2 separate regions of the Homo sapiens genome follow, and region 2 is linked to region 1. Evidence: promoter capture Hi-C in human tissues and cell types (Jung and others, 2019). All regions are on one chromosome and are shown on one strand. Each heading gives the region's core, a stretch centred on a gene start or on the middle of the fragment in contact. The rest is flanking DNA. Distances are from core to core; before and after follow the strand shown.

Region 1 (2,700 bases), core at 75-2,574:
CAGGCCTGAAACCCACCCACCCTCTTAGATGTGTCTGTGGGCCATAGAAATTACTAGGGTTGTCTTGGGTGTGGCCTCAACCTGTTCAACAACAGGTGTGCTGTTTCCATTCTGGAAACCAGTCCTCTGTCTTCCAGAACAGTGATTCTCAAATTTTAGCTGGCATCAGAATCCTGGGAAGGGTTTGTTAAAACACTACTAGGCAGGGTGAGGTAACCTAAGAGCTTTTGGAGGCCCAGGTGAGAGGGATCACTTGAGGCCAGCAGAGTTCAAGAGCAGCCCAGGCAACACAGGGAGACCTCTTCTCTACAAAAATACTACTACTACTACTGCTAATAAAAGCCAGGCACCGTGGCTCACACCTGTAATCCCAGTGCTTTGGGAGGCTGAGGCTGGAGGATGAATCACTTGAGCCCAGGAGTTGGTTTTGGTGAGCTATGATCGCACTCCTGCTCTCCAGCCTGGGCAACAGAGATAGACCCTGTCTCTGGAAAAAGAAAAAAAAAAAAAGCAAGTAACAAAGATTTCTAGTCCCCACCTACAGAGATTGTGCCTCAGTAAGTATAAAGTGGGGCCCAGGATTTCTAACATGTTCTAACGTGCATTTCTAACGTGTTCTCCTGCTTTTTTTTGGCCCCTAGTCCGCACTTTGAGAACCGTTGTCCTAGAGAAAACGGAATACTCCAGGAAGGTTCTGGAAGAATAGGTAATGGGCTTTGGCACTCTGCCCTGGAAACTAGTCAAGTCTCATGTTAATCGGAGAAGGGCAGCACTGTACCAGATACATCCTCTGTGCGGGTTGGTCCAAGATGACCAAGTGGCAGCTGACAAGCACAGCTATGAGGAAGGGTTAGACACAGTTCCACATCAGACCCATGGGAAAAGGGCAGGAGAAATGCGAGAACCTTTTAGAAGGAATGCTCCAGGGAGTCTTTGGGGGCAGTCACTGAGCTGGGCCTGGAGGCTGAGTAGGGTCCTAGAGGAGGGAATGGGTCAGGTTTAGGGGCTGGAAACAGCATTCGCAAGGCAGCACCAGCACCAGCTAAAAACCTAGCCAACAGGGAAAACAAAGTACGGAAACACGCATGCGTTCACAGTGCTGCGTGAATTAACCAAGCGTTGGCGCAAACGGGAAAGGTTCCCCGGCCTCTCTTGGTCAGGGTGACGCAGTAGCCTGCAAACCTCGGCGCGTAGGCCACCGCACTTATCCGCAGCAGGACCGCCCGCAGCCGGTAGGGTGGGCTCTTCCCAGTGCCCGCCCAGCTACCGGCCAGCCTGCGGCTGCGCAGATCTTTCGTGGTTCTGTCAGGGAGACCCTTAGGCACTCCGGACTAAGATGGCGGCGACGGCCAGGCGGGGCTGGGGAGCTGCGGCTGTTGCCGCCGGGCTGCGCAGGCGGTAGGTGACGAGCCTGGAGCTCCGAATAGGTGTGCCGCTGGGCTTAGCCAGCGGAGCGGTCGCCGCCTTGCAGACCCTCTCTCGAGGCGGGTGGGTAGTGCATCTGATGGAGCCGGCGGGTCCGCCCTGTCGCCGTAGTTGGGGGTGAGCCCTGAGGCTGTCTGTGCGGGAGCTCGGCGCTTCTGTGGCCTAATCCGGGCGGACTCTCTGGAGCTTCCTCTCAGGCTCAGAGACCCAGTTCTTGAGTCTCTGCGGTACGGAAGCTTGTAGAGACTGGCTGTAGAGCCAGAACGGAGGAGCTGTTTTAAAATCGTGTGCCTCTCCCGCCCCCAGGCCCTCTACCGGGTGCATTCCCTCCTCTTCTAAACGCAGAATCAGAATGTCACACAGAAGGGAAGAAAATACCTTGTCTCGTTTCCTCATTTTCCCAGTAAGGCCCTGAAAGAGGAGGTGACATGTCCAAGGTTACACAGTTTCTAAGTGATGGAATTCCGACGAGAACCAGGACCCCTAGATTCCCTGCACCCACCACCATTAAGCCCACTCTGTTCCCTTGTTTTTTCCGCCTCCCTGAGCCCTACCTTTGAGTTTCACCTTTCAAAGACTTCTGTGAACATTGCTAAGAGGACATTTATGTAGGTGTACCTTAATTTTACGTCTGGAGAAAATGGCCTACGGAGAGTTTGCCCTCTAGAGTATTAGACATTGTAGTGTTAATGGTGCTCTTGAAGTTTAAATGTATATCCTAAAAAGATTTAAGTTGGTAGAATTTTTTGTTAGTTACCTCCTGTGTTTGAGTAGATGTCTTCCTTGAATAATGTAATCCACTCTTACTTTAAAAAAACAAGACTTTAAACCTGTATGTTGGAATGTGCTTCCTCTTTATTCATTCTGCTGCCTTTTCCCTGGGCTGAAGGGACGAGAATATTATTCTTCTAGTGCATTTCCAAATTCCAGAGTATTCACAGATTTAGATACTGAGCTATAGAAAAAGGCATTTTTACCCCAAACCTTGAACTGCACTCAATTAGTAATTATTGGGCACCAATTAAATAATGGTAGCAGCTGCCATTTATTGAGCACTTACTGCATGGCCTGGCACTGGTTTAAGCACTTTACATGGATTCTCTGGATTATTTATGAGGTAGCTGTGAAACTAATCTCATTGTAGAGATGAAGAACTGAGGCCATTGTGCTAGCAGCTAGAAATGAAGATAGTTTCTCCCCTTAATGAGTATGCAGTCTAGCAAGAAAAATATATTAACAAATAATGACAGTCATGAGTGCTGTAATAGATTCATG
Region 2 (2,700 bases), core at 47-2,546, 370 kb before region 1:
CCATGTTGGCCAGGTTGGTCTCAAACTCCTGGCCTCAAGTGATCCACCCACCTCGGTCTCCCAAAGTGCTGGGATTACAGGTGTGACCCACCACACCTGGCCTCAAGAACATCTTTAAACAAGACAAAGGATCGATCTTTTAAAACACAAGGTCACTTCGGGAACCTAGATCAGGAAGAGGCCCTGCTTCCTGTTGCTGCGAAGTCAGCCAGACAGAGCAGGAAAGACTGTGGCCTACCCTGCCGATGGTGCTCTTGTAGGCTGTCCTGATCTCCTGGCGCTGGGCGGTGTTGCGGTAGGCAAGGACGCTAATAATGGCGTCTTCATCGGTGCCTGGGGGAAGAAGGGAGACAGCAGGTAAGTGTGATTTGAGAGAGGAATGAGAAAGCAGGTTCCTCTGTGGACATTGGAGTTACCCAAACACATGCAGAGGGCTTTCTAAGAAAAGAGGCCCTTATTCAGAGGGTTTGTCTACTTTTTGGGAAACAGATGCTAGGTTCGGGACTTAGCCTCTCCTTTAATTAGCTGTTTACTACTGAAGAAAATGGTTAACTTTCTAAACATTAGTTTCCTTATCTGCAAATGTGAATGATGACAGTGATTTCCCTCGATAGGCTGCTGCAAGTGTTAATATAATTAAATGCCTAGCACTTACTAAACATTTAATAAATGTTGGCTGGAGTAATTTTTTCTCTCCTCTAGAATATTTTTTTTTTTTTTTTTTTTTTGAGAGAAAGTCTCACTCTGTCACCCAGGCTGGAGTGCAATGGCGCGATCTCAGCTCACTGCAACCTCCGCCTCCTGGGTTCAAGCGATTCTCCTGCCTCAGCCTCCTGAGTAGCTGGGATTACAGGGCTGTGCCACCACCCCCAGCGAATTTTTGTGTTTTTAGTAGAGACAGGGTTTCACTATGTTGACCAGGCTGGTCTTGAGCTCCTGACCTCAAATGATCTGCCCTCCTCGGCCTCCCAAAGTGCTGGGGTTACATGTGTGAGACACCACGCCCAGCCATCTCCTCTAGAATTCTTTTCATGTCTTTTGAATCTCCTCTCTCTCTCTTCCATATTCTTGCCTTTTTTTTTGTTTTTATCTTTTTATCATCTCCTCTGAGTTTTGAAACAATTCAAACTTGTCTGTTAATTCACCAATTTGGCATTTTGCAGAGTTTAAGTTGGCTGTTACTGCATTCACTGTGTTTTAAAATCTGGAACTATGTTTTGCACTTCTAAGCTATCTTTCCTGAACACAAATGGTTCCCTTTTAGAACTGCTGACAAATTACCATGATACAACATCTTACCAAAACTTTAAGCAAAAATTACAAATTAAAAATGTTCTAAGTTTTGCTTGCCTGTTTCTTGCAGCAGCTTTAACAAGGAGACTTTATTCTGATTTTTCAGATTGGTCCCTTGTCTTTATAACAGCTGGCTGTTCATAAATGTTTGGTGAATCTTCTGTTTCCTCGTTGTTTGTGCTGTATGGGGGGTTGGAATGGGTTTCAGAAATGATTCTATTGAAAATATTTCAGGGAGAAATGAAAAAATACAGCCAAACTTTAGTTATCCTTGGCAAGGTTAGAGATGCAAAAAGATGTGAGGTGTGGAGAGGAAGCTATAGAACTTTAAGTTTACATACCTTGGGGACCTACTTTCTGTTCCTTTTTTTTTTTTCTTTTTTTGAGATGGAGTTTCGCTCTGTCACCCGGGCTGGAGTGCAGTCCAGCTCACTCCCTCTCCCTCCCAGGTTCAAGCAATTCTCCTGCCTCAGCCTCCCTAGTAGCTGGGATTACAGGTGCCTGCCACCATGCCTGGCTAATTTTTTTTTGTATTTTTTACTAGAGATGGGTTTCACCATGTTGACCAGGCTGGTCTTGAACTCCTGACCTCAGGCGATCCACCTGCCTCAGCCTCCCAAAGTGCTGAGATTACAGGCATGAGCCATCATGCCCAGCCGTGTTCCTATTTTTAAAAAGGAGAGGACAATCCATATAACAATCAATTTCTCCCTTGGCACTCTCAGCTAGGAGGGGGTGTGGAAGGGGCAGAGAGGGTTCATTACCTTTTGTTCATTCCCTGTTTCTGTGAAAGGGATCACTCTTCCCCCCAGTCAAGCCAAGCTGAAATCCTCAAAATAGATTCAATTTTTTTTTTTTTTTTTGAGACAGAGTCTTGCTCTGTGGCCAGTCTGTAGTGCAGTGGTGCCATCTCGGCTCACTGCAACCTCTGCCTCCCGGGTTCAAGCGATTCTCCTGCCTCAGCCTCCCCAGTAGCTGGGACTACAGGTGCACGCCACCACGCCCAGCTAATTTTTGTGTTTTTAGTAGAGACGGGGTTTCACCTTGTTGGCCAGAATGGTCTCGATCTTTTGACCTTGTGCTCTGCCCACCTAGGCCTCCCAAAGTGCTGGGATTACAGGCGTGAGCCACTGCACCCAGCCCAATAGCTTTGATTTTTTTACCCTCTCCTTTCCTCTTCATTCAAGTCCACGGTCATGCAAAATGTTGCTTTACAGCCTCTTTTGCATTCTTTCACTCTTTTTATTTCCTATCACAACCATTCCAATTCAAGATTTCAGGGTTTCTTCTTAGACAAGTGCAGATGTCTGCTAACTAGTATTCTTAACTCCTGGTTGGTCTTCCCAGAGTCTTGCCAGATTCATTTTTGTAAAAAGAAAAACTCTCACAATGTCTCTCCCCTGCTCA

What was found. The method cuts DNA at HindIII sites, captures the fragments that hold promoters and counts their contacts. A contact is called where the count stands out against the background at its distance.
Region 2: a fragment that was not itself captured here is called in contact with the fragment with the promoter of NFU1 in region 1 in 1 of the 25 tissues and cell types used here (aorta).

What each region holds. Positions count from the first base shown.
Region 1 is chr2:69,436,059-69,438,758 of GRCh38, reverse strand. NFU1 (NFU1 iron-sulfur cluster scaffold) reads left to right here and starts at 1,324. Exons shown (of 8, transcript NM_001002755.4): 1 at 1,324-1,398. The coding sequence starts at 1,337. RefSeq lists an enhancer at 1,319-1,468. The HindIII fragment of the contact is 8,312 bases long and covers 1-2,700 here.
Region 2 is chr2:69,802,166-69,804,865 of GRCh38, reverse strand. It overlaps ANXA4 (annexin A4), which reads right to left. Exons shown (of 13, transcript NM_001153.5): 4 at 239-333. Among named protein-coding and RNA genes, the nearest start is that of SMANTIS, 4.5 kb to the right of the region's middle. The HindIII fragment of the contact is 6,525 bases long and covers 1-2,700 here.